Regions from separate parts of the Homo sapiens genome. Here regions 2, 3, 4 and 5 are each linked to region 1. Evidence: promoter capture Hi-C in human tissues and cell types (Jung and others, 2019). All regions are on one chromosome and are shown on one strand. Each heading gives the region's core, a stretch centred on a gene start or on the middle of the fragment in contact. The rest is flanking DNA. Distances are from core to core; before and after follow the strand shown. Region 1 holds the start of ZNF649 (zinc finger protein 649). Region 2 overlaps ZNF888 (zinc finger protein 888). Region 3 overlaps ZNF525 (zinc finger protein 525). Region 4 has its middle 19 kb from the start of ZNF845. Region 5 overlaps ZNF816-ZNF321P (ZNF816-ZNF321P readthrough).

Evidence for each region. Contacts are between HindIII fragments. The study calls those that stand out against the background at their distance.
Region 2: a fragment that was not itself captured here is called in contact with the fragment with the promoter of ZNF649 in region 1 in 1 of the 25 tissues and cell types used here (aorta).
Region 3: a fragment that was not itself captured here is called in contact with the fragment with the promoter of ZNF649 in region 1 in 1 of the 25 tissues and cell types used here (dorsolateral prefrontal cortex).
Region 4: a contact is called between a fragment that was not itself captured here and the fragment with the promoter of ZNF649 in region 1, in 1 of the 25 tissues and cell types used here (stomach).
Region 5: a contact is called between a fragment that was not itself captured here and the fragment with the promoter of ZNF649 in region 1, in 1 of the 25 tissues and cell types used here (adrenal gland).

The regions. Positions count from the first base shown.
Region 1 is chr19:51,903,479-51,906,274 of GRCh38, reverse strand. ZNF649 (zinc finger protein 649) reads left to right here and starts at 1,258. Exons shown (of 5, transcript NM_023074.4): 1 at 1,258-1,361. RefSeq lists enhancers at 1-616, 1,107-1,226, 945-1,489, 2,580-2,796. The HindIII fragment of the contact is 10,496 bases long and covers 1-2,796 here.
Region 2 is chr19:52,908,435-52,911,134 of GRCh38, reverse strand. The region is part of intron 4 of ZNF888 (zinc finger protein 888); the gene reads left to right. Among named protein-coding and RNA genes, the nearest start is that of ZNF320, 12 kb to the right of the region's middle. The HindIII fragment of the contact is 5,859 bases long and covers 1-2,700 here.
Region 3 is chr19:53,379,469-53,382,168 of GRCh38, reverse strand. It overlaps ZNF525 (zinc finger protein 525), which reads right to left. Exons shown (of 4, transcript NM_001348156.2): 4 at 1-1,447. The coding sequence ends at 150. Among named protein-coding and RNA genes, the nearest start is that of ZNF765, 14 kb to the left of the region's middle. The HindIII fragment of the contact is 5,110 bases long and covers 1-2,700 here.
Region 4 is chr19:53,313,442-53,316,300 of GRCh38, reverse strand. It overlaps the pseudogene VN1R6P. Among named protein-coding and RNA genes, the nearest start is that of ZNF845, 19 kb to the left of the region's middle. The HindIII fragment of the contact is 6,434 bases long and covers 1-2,859 here.
Region 5 is chr19:52,955,788-52,958,487 of GRCh38, reverse strand. It overlaps ZNF816-ZNF321P (ZNF816-ZNF321P readthrough), which reads left to right. Exons shown (of 4, transcript NM_001202473.2): 2 at 2,384-2,461. The coding sequence starts at 2,399. ZNF816 (zinc finger protein 816) reads left to right here. Exons shown (of 4, transcript NM_001202457.3): 2 at 2,384-2,461. The coding sequence starts at 2,399. Among named protein-coding and RNA genes, the nearest start is that of ZNF816, 5.7 kb to the left of the region's middle. The HindIII fragment of the contact is 5,247 bases long and covers 1-2,700 here.

The DNA of each region.
Region 1 (2,796 bases), core at 9-2,508:
TAAGGCGATTTTCTCCTATCTCAGTAGATGGAACATACAATCGGGTTTTATACCGAGACATTCCATTGCCCAGGGACGAGCAGGAGACAGATGCCTTCCTCTTGTCTCAACTGCAAGAGGCCTTCCTTCCTCTTATACTAATCCTCCTCAGCACAGACCCTTTACGGGTGTCGGGCTGAGGGATGGTCAGGTCTTTCCCTTCCCACGAGGCCATATTTCAGACTATCACATGGGGAGAAACCTTGGATAATACCTGGCTTTCTGGGGCAGAGGTCCCTGTGGCCTTCCGCAGTGTATTGTGTCCCTGGGTACTTGAGATTAGAGAGTGGTGATGACTTTTAACAAGCATACTGCCTTCAAGCATTTGTTTAACAAAGCACATCCTGCATAGCCCTAAATCCATTAAACCTTGAGTCAACACAGCACACGTCTCTGTGAGAACAGGGTTGGGGGTAGGGTTACAGATTAACAGCATCTCAAGGCAGAAGAATTTTTCTTAGTACGGAACAAAATGGAGTCTCTTATGTCTACTTCTTTCTACATAGACACAGTAACAGTCTGATCTCTCTTTCTTTTCCCCACAGTGCACTGTTGTTAGTGCTCCAACCTCACAGTGCAGGGGTTGAGGTGTCAGGAGAGGGAACACATCAGTGCCATTTCACTGTCTCCTGTGTCAAAGCAAAATTAAAATGCAGACCAGAATTCAAAAACTCCTGAGCAAACAAAACCCAGTAGGCCTTAAAAACAGCCTTAACCTTGCTTAACCTGCAAACATAAGCAACAATTCACTTGAGTCATTTCTGGTAAATGCTTGTGTTAGGGAAGGACAAAACTCAATCTCAACCGATCAAAAGTAGGCAACTCACATGCTATTATGTCATTAGGGACTTTCCAAGGCAAATTTAAAAAAATGCATTTTTATAATTGTAACTAATCAAATAATTTCTTTGTTTTACTCCTTCACTCACCCTGTGAATACTTGTGTCTAATGCTTTAAGCATAGAAGCGCGAGACTTCTTTTGGTTTGATGCTTCCTAATTCATGAATTGCTGTTTGTTCAGATAAACTCTAGAAAATGCTCCTGCGCCTCAAATTTTTGCTTTCAGGAGAGTCATCCCGGTTTAATGACACAAGAACAACTGTTTCCCTTCTGTACGGCAGATCTACCAAGATGGCCGCGCCCAGAGAGCCGTGGCTCAGGGCGCGGACATGTTACCTCCTCGAAGAGAAGCCCATGTCCCATCGTCCTAGCGCGGCAGAATTGACTCGCGCCCTCGTCCGCCGCCATAGGCCAGTGCCGGGGTTTAAGGGCCAGGAAAGGAAGCATTCAGGGAATTTAGGTGTAGCCAGAAGAAAATCAGGTGAGTGTTTGGGTCTCTCCGTGGAGTAGGTTAAAGGGGTAGGGAGCTTCTGAGGAGCCTGTGGGGAGAGCTGGCGGCCTGGGCGGTGGAGCCTTTGGGTTGGGGTGCCTTTGCGGTCCGGCGTGGGAGAGTTCTTGTGGTCGGGCGTTAAAGGTCTGTCGAGTTCAGCGACTGAGACTCGGCGTCAGAGTTTGGGGTCTCTGAGGGTCACTCTGTTAGTAGGCCTCTGGATCACTGGATGGAGAACTCTAGGGGGACGCTGCCCAGCACGCCGGCTTTATCACCGACGCCATTATTATCACTCCAAATGCTGCAGTTTAAAGTCGGTGATGAAGCCGGGGTGCTGGGCAGCGTACGAGGGTGTGTGGTGTAGGTTTTGGGGTGAATCGGGGATGTGTGTTAAGTGTTTCGGGGAGGCCCAGGCATGTGGGGCTCAGAGGCTTGTAAAATCTGGTATTTTACAAGCCCAGGCCCCTGGCTGGGGTTGAGTTGTGAAACTATAACCGCCCACCCTTGCCGGCTGCCTAGACAGAGCCGACTTGTTAAGACAGGGAAATTGCAATGGAGAAAGAGCAATTCATGCAGAGCCGGCTGTGCGGGGAGACCGGAGTTTTATTATTACTCAAATCAGTGATAAAAGAAAAATTGAAGCCGAATTAAATTTACAGGAGTTTCCTTGAGCAATGAACGATTCGCGAATTGGGCAGCCCCCAGAATCACAGCAGATTAACAGAGACTCCAGGGGTGCCTCGTGGTCAGAACAAATTTATAGACAAAAAAGGTAAAGTGACATACAGGAATCGGAAGCGAGGTCCAGAAACAGTGAGATTGGTTACCATTCGGCGTTTGCCTTATTTGAACGCAGTTGGAACATTCAGCAGTCTATGAGTATGGCCGCTGGGACTGGCCACCACTCAGCTATTGTTACAGGTGCATACGATTAAGTTCGGTTTTCAATTTTGTCTGTTAAGCTAGGTTGCAGTTTATCCACAAGGACTCAAATATAGAAGTATGGAGTCGTTCTCAGGCAATATTTAGTTTGCTTAAGCATCAGTCTCCTTGAGCATTTGGGGATCAAAGTTTCCTCCTATCCCCCAGACGGAATCTAGCTCTGTTGTCCAGTCTGGAGTGCAGTGGTGCGATCTCAGCTCACTGCAACCTCCGCCTCCTGGGTTCTAGCGACTGTCCTGCCTCAGCCTCCCGAGTGGCTGGGATTACAGGCGCCCGCCACCACGCCCGGCTAATTTTTGTATTTTTAGTAGAGACAGGCTTTCACCACGTTGGCCAGGCTGGTCTTGAACTCCTGACCTCAGGTGATCTGCCCGCCTCGGCCTTCCAAAGTGCTGGGATTATAGGCATGAGCCATCGCGCCTAGCTATGATTGTTACGATTTATAAGAAATGTATAATCGATCTTTGTCCTGTTTCCTGGCACA
Region 2 (2,700 bases), core at 26-2,525, 1.0 Mb before region 1:
GGCTGAGACGGGCCAATCACTTGAGGTCAGGAGTTCGAGACAAGCCTGGCCAACATGGTGAAATCCCGTGTCTACTAAAAGTACAAAAATTAGCTGTTCATGGTGCTGTGCACCTGTAATCCCAGACTTGGGAGGTTGAAGCAGGAGAATCACTTGAACCCAGGAGGTGGAGGTTGCAGTGAGCTAAGATCACCCCACTGCACTCCAGCCCGGGTGACAGAGTGAGACTCTGGGCTGAGGAGGGAGAATCACTTGAGGTAGGAGAATCATGCCACTACACTTGAGCCTGGGTGATAGAGCATGACTCAATCTCAAAGACAAAAGAGGAAATAGCTTACACTGGGAGGCTTAAGAGACAGAAATTTATTTTTCATGAATTTGGGAAGGGAGAAATCCAAGAGCAAGGTGCCAGCCAAATAAGTTCCTGGTGAGAGGCTTCTTCATGGTTTAGCCCAGCCATCTTCCTGCCATGTCCTAACATGGTGGAAAGAGGAACAGGCAATGAGCTCTTTAATGTCTCTTTATAAATGCACTTTTAGTATTCACAGGTAGTCAACACCCATGGCTAAATTCTCTCCAAGTCTGCATCTGCAGCAACATCCTATTAGAGAATACCACATCTACCAAAGCTTATTTGAGAAGTAGTTATTTATCTTATTTTTTTGAGATGTAGTCGCATTCTCTCACCCAGGCTGGAGTGCAGTAGCATGGTCTCGGCTCACTGCATCCTCCGCCTCCCAGGTTCAAATGATTCCTGCTTCAGCCTCCCAAGTAGCTGGGATTAAAGGCACCCGCCACCATGCATAGCTAATTTTTTTTGTATTTTTAGTAGAGATGGGGTTTCACCATGTTGTCCAGGCTGGTCTTGAACTTATGACCTCATGATCCACCTGCCTCAGCCTCCAAAAGTGCTGGGATTACAGGCATGCACCACCGCGCCCTGGTGTTATTCAGTTCTTTTTTTTTTTTTTTTTTTTTTTTTTTTGAGACGAAGTCTCGCTCTAGTCCCCAAGGTTGGAGTGCGATGGTGCAGTCTATGCTCACTGCAACCTCCGCTTTCCAGGGTCGAGTGATTCTCCTGCCTCGGGTCCCCCAAGTAGTGGGGATTACACGCCCGGCTAATTTTTGTATTTTTAGTTGAGACGGGGTTTCACCATGTTGGCCAGGCTGTTCTAGAACTCCTGACCTTGGGTGATCCACCCGCCTTGGCCTCCCAAAGTCCTGGGATTACAGGCATGAGCCACCATGCCTGGCCATAGTCAATTCTTATTCCTTATAATGCTGTGTATTTTCTTGACCTCATATATTAGAAGGTAGTGATCTTAACATGTATTTCTGTTCTTATGTTGTGTACTGGTGGTAAGAACAAGTTGTGGTTTTTTTCTTAAGAGGGAATTGTTTAGAATTCTGCAGGCAGTATAAATCTACTTATTTTCTTGCTTGTTTTATCATGGGTTACAGTATTTTATTATTTGATTAATGAATTAATAATATATTTTATTAATTGATTTTATGATTTTACATGTGAGTTTTTGGTACGTGGTATGCAATATAACTGAGAGATTCCACTCATTAATGTCAAAAGTGCCCCCGGGCGCAGTGGCTCATGCCTGTAATCCCAGGATTTAGGAGGCTGAGACATGTGGGTCACCTGAGGTCAGGAGTTCGAGACGAGCCTTGCCAACGTGGTGAAACCCCATCTCTACTAAAAATTTAAAAATTAGCTGGGCATGGTGGTGTGTGCCTGTAATCCCAGGTACTCAAGAGGCTGAGGCAAGACACTCGCTTGAACCCAGGAGGTTGAGGTTACAGTGAGCCCAGATTGTGCCACTGCACTCCAGCCTGGGTGACAGAGCGAGACTCCATCTCAAAAAAAAAAAAATACAAAAATTTTTTTTAAAAAGTTACAAAGCGCCTGTTCCACATGGATATAGGTAATTTTGTAACAGTTATTCAGAAAAATATGGTATTAACATTTTCTTTTTTTTTTGAGATGGAGTCTCACTTTTTTGCTCAGGCTGGAGTGCAGTGGTGCGATCTCAGTTTACCACTATCTTCGCCTCCCGGGTTCAAGCAATTCTCCTGCCTCAGCCTCCCAAGTAGCTGGGATTACAGGCTCCCGCGACCACGCCCGGCTACTTTTTGTATTTTTAGTAGAGACGGGGTTTTGCCACGATGGCCAGGCTGGTCATACTCCTGATCTGAGGAGATCCACCTGCCTCGGCCTCCCAAAGTAGTGGGATTACTGGTGTGGGCCACCAAGCCCTGCCTTTTTTTTTTTTTTTTTTTTGACTCGAGTCTCACTTTGTCACCCAGGCTGTGGTGCAGTGGTGCGATGTTGGCTCACTGCAACCTTTGCCTCTTGGCTTAAAGTGATTCTTGTGCCTCAGCCTCCCGAGTACCTGGGATTACAGGCACGGGCCACAACACCTGGCTAATTTTTGTAATCTTTTATTATCTTCTCTGTGCTGTGATGGTTTGACAGTACAGGATTTCCATTGATTTTGGTTATCCTTACAAGAGCTTGTTGTTGATTATTTACCAATATAGTACATTGTCCGGTCCTTTAGCATTTATTTCTATACAGTAAATATGCTGTAAATATGAAGAATATATATTTTCTTCTTTTTGTTGTTACAGTGATAAATTTTTTGCAAACTGTGACACACTTTAAGGTCACAATGGAAAAATACTCCTTAC
Region 3 (2,700 bases), core at 36-2,535, 1.5 Mb before region 1:
TCATCACATTCTTCACATTTGTAAGGTTTCTCTCCACTATGAAATTTATGATGGTATACAATGGATGACGTATGACTGAAGATCTTGCCACAATCATTACACTTATAACATTTCTCTCCAGTATGAATTTTCTGACGTATTTCAAGATTTTATTTGAAACTGTAAGCCTTGTCACATTCTCCACACTTGCAAGGTTTCTCTCCACTATGAAGTCTACAATGGCAGGTAAGGGATAACTCCTGACTGAAGGTCTTGCCACACTCATTACATTTGTACAGTTTCTCTCCATTATGAATTCTCCTATGTCTTTCAAGACTTGATTTGAAACGGAAAGCTTCATCACATTCTTCACACTTGTAAGGTTTCTCTCCAGTATGAAGTCTACGATGGCATGTAAGGGTTGACATATGACTGAAGGTCTTGCCACAATCATTACACTTGTATGGTTTCTCTCCAGTATGAGTTATCCTATGACTTTCAAGGTTTGATTTGAAACTGAAAGCTTTGTCACATTCTTCACATTCGTAAGGTTTCTTTCCAGTATGAATGCTACGATGGCATGCAAGGTATGACTTCTGACTAAAGGTCTTGCCACACTCATTACACTTATGTGGTTTCTCTCCAGTATGAATTCTCCTATGTCTTTGAAGGGCTGAATTGTGTCTGAAAGCTTTGTCACATTCTTCACATTTGTAAGGTTTCTCTCCAGTATGAAGTCGATGATGATATGTAAGGGATGACATCTGACTGAAGGACTTGCCACACTCATTACACTTGTAAGGTTTCTCACCAGTGTGACATCTACGATGGCGTGCAAGGTATCGCTTCCGAATAAAGACCTTGTCACATACATCACATTTATATTGTTTCTCTCCTAGATGAATAATCTGATGTTTCCTTAAGAGTGAGCTATAATTAAAGGCTTTGCCACTCTCAATACATTGGAAAGATTTTTCTCTCATGCGTACTTCCTGTCTTTGTGTGAGTAATGAATAATTCAGAAAATTATCCCCATAGTTATTAGATATATGGGTTTTGGGCCTACAAGAAATTCTTTGGGCTGTTGAAACCGAGGAAGCATCGTTGATAGACTTCTCCACTTGATTATTAATTTTCCCTTTGGGCTGAAATATGTGGAGTTCAGACAGATGTGAATGAAAGCTTGATCCAAGCTGATATTTAATAGGCTTGTTTCCAGCATGCCTGTGATCATATTGCTCTGTACTACCCATCAATTTTTTGATTTTTGTCATGGGTGCTTCATGGCCATTTCTTTCATCTTCTTGCCACTGAAACTCAAAGTTATGAATATCTTTCTCAATTTCCTGGAAGGAAAAATCTCCAATGTGATGACGTTCATGTCTTTGCAATGTCCCTGTGTGGATCACTTCTGTATTGCCTTGTGCTGTTGATGAGAACTCCTTCATTGTGCATTTGGAAGAGATACCTACAAAATATAAACACTAATAGGTACACAAAAGACAATACTGATTTTAAACTTCCCAAACATGATCTTCAAAGTTTAGGAACACAAAATCGTAAGATTCTTTAATAAATAAAGGGCGATTACATGTGCTTCAAATTATTATTATGAAAGCTTATTTCCAATATCATGACAAAACACTGAAGGGCACAAACATGTGTAAGCCTAAAATAAGGAGTATTTTTCCACTGTGACCCTAAAGTGTCTAACAGTTTGCAAAAGACATATCACTGTCACATCAATGAAAAGTATATATTCTTCATATTTACAGCATACTTACTGTATACAAATAAATACTAAAGGACCACACAATATAATATACTGGTAAATAATCCACAGCAAGCTCATGTAAGGATAACCAAAATCAATGGAAATTCTGTATTGTTAAATAATCATAGCACTGAGAAGATAAGAAAAGTTTACAAAATTTAGCAAGGCATGGTGGTGCACGTCTGTACTCCCAGCTACTCGCAAGGGTGAGGTACAAGAATTGCTTGAACCCAAGAGGCAGAGGTTGCAGTGAGCCGAGATCGCACCACTGTACTTCAGCCTGGATGACAAAGTGAGACTCCATCTCAAAAAAAAAAAAATATTTTTCTGAATAACTGTCATAAAATTACCTATATCCATGCAGAAAAGGCATATTGTAACATTTAAAATTTTTTTTTTATTTTTGTATTTTTGAGACAATGTTTCACTGTGTCACAACAGGCTGGAGGGCAATGGCCTGATCTCAGCTCACTGCAACCTCCACCTTTTGGGTTCAAGCCATTCTCCTGCCTCAGCCTCCTGAGTACATGGGATTACAGGCACATGCCAGCATGCTTGGCTAATTTTTGTATTTTTAGTAGAGATAGGGTTACATCATATTGGCCAGGCTGGCCTTGAACTTTTGACCTCAAGTGATCCACCCGCCTCAGCCTCCCAAAGTCCTGGGATTGCAGGCGTGAGCCACAGCACCCGCTGGCACTTTGTGACATTAACTAGTAAACTGTGTCAGTTATATTGCATACCACATACCGAAAAGCTTTATGTAAAATCATAAAAATGAATTGGTAAAATAACTGTAACGCATAAAACCAGCAAGCAAATCATAAGTACATTTATACAAACTGCAGAATTCTAAACAATTCCCTGTTAAGAAAAAAGCACAACTTCTACTTACCACCAGCACACAATATAAGAACTGAAATACATGTTAAGATCACTACCTTCTG
Region 4 (2,859 bases), core at 31-2,530, 1.4 Mb before region 1:
CAGGTATTAATAAAGCTTTAATAATATGAGTATTTACATAATAATTTCATCGTTTCATTTATAATTGTTCTTACTAGATATTGTTTACCATTGGGATGGAAGTTCACCCTGTCTTGTTCATCACCTTCTCATGATTGTGACAGGTTCATAATCATGTGTACATTACTGCAGGGAAGAGGGAATCATCAATTAAACAATGAGCAAATATATACAACTTACATGTTTTCACATGTTTATGATCAGTTTAGGGGATCTTGTCATCTTTTCCAAGCAAAGCAAAGCCTGTATACACTGGGGTCACAGCTCATGAGAACAAAGGGACTGAGAGTTGGGAAACATACACTCATTAAGGCTGAAGTGTTCACCAGTAAACTATTGGGATTATCCAAAAGAGCCATCAAACTTGGAAAAGGCAGGAGAGAGTGTAAGAAGACACAAAGGTGCTCACCAGGATGAGGATGCTCTGCGTAGCTCTGTTCTCTGGGGAGGCTCTGGGGGAGAGATCGCTCCTATCAATGTGCTGGACCCGCTGCTTGTGCCTGTGCAGGATGCAAACCATGGAGCTGCTGACCCAGAGCATGAGCCCCAGACACAACACATCAGGGAATGATAACAACATTGCACGCAGTGTCTGTGCGATTTTGTTGTTGCCTCCCCCAGAACAGTATCCCAAATCCTCGTTCACTGTGATGTTTGTGTAGTTCCATTTGCCAGTCACATACATGGGAAAGATGATGTTTACCAACATGCACACGATCCAGCACAGGAGAACAGAAAAGCCAACATGCTTGGGGGCTTTCTCTTTAAGTTTTCCCACCTGGATTTCCTGGAGCTGACCGTGATCACCTGGAAGACACTCAAGAGGCAGGTGGTGCCAATGGACACTCCCCTGCCCACTCTATGGAGATAGAAAACAAGTTTGCACCCAAGAGCATTAAGAAAATATCTAACCCCAAAAGCTGCCATTGTCTGGGGGACTCCTTTACAGCGGAGAGCTAAGAAGTTGGCTACAATCAGGTGCTTAACAATCAAATCTGTGGACCTTAACCTGTACCCAGTGCAGTAAAGGGAGAGATAATGGAGAAGAAGAGAGAAGCTCCCCAGGACTCCCACCACGGTCTGTGATAAGAAGATCATTCCCACTGCCACATACCGGGAGGCCATTCTGCCACTGATGTCTGTCACTGATGTTTGTCTTCAGGGCTGGGAGGTCCTGCATGGAAATAGGAGGCATGAGCTACGTTTATAGTGTCACCTGCAACCCAGCATTCTCCACCTCCCATTGCTCTGCCCTTAGAAATACTTAAAGTCACTCTTCTCTTAAGAGGCTTTTGAGAGTTGAATGCGTAACCTTTAAAGAGCACTTCCCATGTGGGAATCACTGCTGTGCAGATCATACGTGCGGCAACTTCTTTTTTCACAAACCTATGAGGCAGGCATTACTATTACTTTCATTGTAAATATGAGAAGGACATAGACACAGAGAGGTGAAGTGGCTAGTGACATTTCCACCCTACTTACAGGCAAGCACGAACTTGAACCTGCCTTGTTTTTTTGCACAGAGAGTGCATTTAGCCATTATAGTTTACTAACAAAGCTAGATAGCTGTGTTCTTTGAATAAGACACACACATACAGAGACCTTTGTTTTTATTCCTTGTCATTATATTTTAGTCTTGTAGTAGGTTACTGTATATTGTAATGATTTTATATCATGTGCAAAAATTTATTCTATTTGTCAATATCTGAATAAATAAAGGTTTAGAGATCTTAAAAAATGTAGATGAATGAATTACAGTTTAACACTATAGAAACCTGTGCCATAACAAATTGGATTTAATGACTGCAAGCACGGATCAATATTAGAATGGAAAGAGAGTAAAAAACATTGTGAGCATTTGCTTTTGTGCCAAGGACAAAGGCATAAAGGCACCTACCACAATCATGTCTTACCCAAAACAATAGGACATGAAACACCAATATGGGATAAAATAGTGTACGGTAATAACCAAATTCTTACAAATCTTAGATGACATATCTAGAGCCATTAGTAACTGAGTTAAAGAAATTATTATCCTTAGGACAATATTTGCATAATTAAATTAAAGTGTGACAAACATGAAAATTGGAAACTCTAATGGATGTGTGTTATATAGTTGATAAACAGAAATTAGAGAGTTTGGGTGATGTTAGAATCTATTTGAAGCAGAGAACACATTAGAGGACACATTTGAGTCTGACAGCTGCTCTCTTTAGCTCGTTATTATAAAGTTACCTTTTCCTTAAATTCTGCCTCCTTAACATCAAGAGGAAAGACAGTCTCACCATAATCAACAGACTATGGTGGTTTTCAGTGGAGACACAATTAATGCTCCCATTAAGCCCTGCACACTCTCAGAATTAGAGAAAACATTTTCGTTCCAGCAACTACCATTTAGATACACTGTTTGTGTAAGGAATTACATGACTCCTGTAGAGTCAGTCTACTCATTACAAGCATGGTGATATTATAGTCACGTCCTCAGCAATCCTGAAATTTTAGTCTATGATTCCTGTTGGGTAGGCGGAACAGCAGATTGATTTTAGTACCACAGTCCTTAAGAATGCAACCAGCTTTCATTATTACGACAGATTGATTTAAGAATGTTAATCCTTAAGAACGTAGTCAAGTTTCACTATGATTGGGTGAAACACCAACAATGCGGGTCAGTGTGGATTCTCCTAAATCACGTCAGGACCCCCCAGGGATTGGTGTGGGGCTAGGACCCCATTTCGGTTTGCTAGCTCAGCTCATGGCTCCGAACTATTCCTCTTTTTTCTGTGACTTGGGAACTAGACCAGTTTTCAATCTAGAACAATT
Region 5 (2,700 bases), core at 110-2,609, 1.1 Mb before region 1:
CTTCCCTGAAGATGGTGGGGGAGTTCTTGAACCCTTGCAGAAGCCGGGTCCAAGAGTACTGAGCAGTGACACCTGATCCCAGATCTTCCTACTGAAAGGCAAACAGCTTCTGGCTCTGAGGGGCTAGTCTAATGCTAAAGAAAGTGTCTTTCAGGTCTAAGCCAGAGAACCAGCTGTCCTCAGCTGGCAGCAACCTTAACGTGTACGGGTTAGGTACTGTTGGATGTAAAGTCACTGTAGCTTGATTGACTAAGTGCAAGTCCTGTACCGGCCTGTAGTCATTGGTCCCTGGCGTGGGAACAGGCAGGAGGGGAGTGTTCCAGGGAGACTGACAAGGGACTGTAATTCTAAAGGCTCTCAGGCTCTTGAGATGGACCTGGATACTTTCAAGATCTTCTCTGGGGACCAGGTACTGTTTTTGCCTGACTGGCTGGGCCCTACGCTTAACTTCTATAAGTACCAGGGCTTGGTTAACTGCCATCCCTGGAGGGTTGTCTTCTGTCTACACCCTTGGCCACCGCTTAGCCAGAGTTGGTCTTATCTCTTGGCCTGGCTCAGTTAAAAGAAGTCTCCATTCCTCTTCCTGGGGGACTGTAAGGGCCATAATGACTCCCGTTCTGGGTAACCTTAGCTGTAAAGAGCTGTGCTCTGTAGAAGAGACGGTGGCTCTCAGCTCGCTAAGCAAGTCCTTTCAAGTCCTTTCAAGTCAGGCATGTACAAGAACTGGTGAATCACTTTATGTCTTCCTACAGTACAAGTCTGGGGCAACAGAAAGCTTGCTTTGATAAAACTCCCATGGCTCCGATTATAACAATAGTCTTTTTGGAAAGGGGGGCAACCGGGGCGGTTACTACTGAATGTTCAGCACTGGTATCAATACGAAAATCAATGTCTTTGCCCCTAACTGTCATCTTGACCATGGGCTCCTTGGGGGCAGTTGAGCCTGGTCCTCCTCAGTTCAGTAACTCTTCTGCTATATTGAACAGGGCTCCTTCTGGGGCCTCCTGCTCTGAGCCACCTTGTTTTCCTTTTAGCTGAGGGCACTTGTCCTTCTAATATCCTATTTCTTTACAGTAAGCACACTGGTTACACTGCAAGTTCGGATGGCCAGGCTAAGTATCTTTCTGGGGCACATGCCTACCTGGTAGCACTCTCAGAATCCATGTCGCCCAAGCTGGCTGGAGTACCCAGCAGGGATGCTCCAAAGGGCAGGCCTAAGTCACCTAAGGGGTTGCCTCGACCTTCTGTTAATTACCTCGCTTCCAAGTCAGGGAACCAAGAAATGTAGCATGACGAGCCGCAGACAGTACCTCTCAGACAACGGATTAAAGAAGGAAGTGGCTTTATTCGGCCCAGCGCATCAGAGGACTCGTGTCTCAAGAACTGAGCTCCCTGAAAAAGAAATTCCTGGCCCTTTTAAGGGCTTACAGCTCTAAGGCATCCACGTGAAAGGGTCATGATAGATCAAGCAAGTGTGGGGAATGTGACTTGACACTACGTGCATCAGCTAACAGAACAGAAACTTTTGCAATGCTTCTTCATACAATGTCTAGAATTTACAGATAACATAAGTAGTTTAGGTCAGGGGTTGGTATTATTATTATTTTTAACCACCGGGGCCAGGTGGTAGCACCAAGGTCGTCTGGCTATTTATCTTACTTCTGTTTCTTTCTAACTTTTTGCTTTCTTCCTTTCCTCCTGTCTTATAAACTAGGCAAGGGGGAGGGAGGAAGGCAGCAGGAGAAGTGGTGGTCTGCTTCCTACCTCAGCCTCCAGAGTAGCTGGGACCACAGCTGCGTGCCACCACACCACACTAATTTTTGTGTTCTTCGTAGAGATGGGCTTTCGCCATGTTGCTCAGGCTGGTGTCCAACCCCAGAGCTGAAGGGATCCAGCTGCATCGGCCTCCCAAAATGCTGGGATTACAGGCATGCTGTTTTATCAGATTGCTATTATAATAGGATGGGACCCACACTCAATAATACTTACAATGGCACTGGTGATTCTTATCTGTGTCCAGCATTAAACATCAAGGAAGTTTCCTCCATGTTGAGAGCTGAGATCAGTCTGTGATCCACAGGGAGGTGAGGGGGCTGTGCTCTGCATGGAGTTTGGTTAGGGCTAGATCTGTGCCCTGAAGATCTGTGTCCTGCTGCAGCGTGTGTGTGGACTTTTCCAGGAGGGGAGCAAGATCTGAAAACGGGTCAAAATTACATTTGTAGGTCTTCCTGTGGAACTTTCTTATCTCTGCATGGTCTCTGGTGCAGTGGGTAGCAAAGGACCATCTTTCTCTCGGGTGAGGTTTCCCCTGTGTGTGTGTTTTGTCACAGGAAAGGAGTCAATGGTTTCTAAATATTAAATCTCTTGCTTTTTTAACATACAGGATTTCCAAAGACTCATGTTACGTGAGGAAGCCACCAAGAAGAGCAAAGAAAAGGAGCCAGGGATGGCTCTTCCTCAGGTAAGTGATATTCCTTGGTGGATTCTTCTGTCTCTTTCCTTTCTGAAGTGCCAGGTATTGTAGTAGCCAATCTTCTCTGAGTGTGAAGCATTCTACATCACACGTTTGCTCGCACTCACCCGTGTCTTTTCTCAGTCCCTCTCATCTTCACTTAAATTCCATCTCCTATAACCTAGTGACATGAGCTTGGGAAGAGGCTCCACTGGGCATGGTCCTGGGAAGGGCTCACACCAGACATG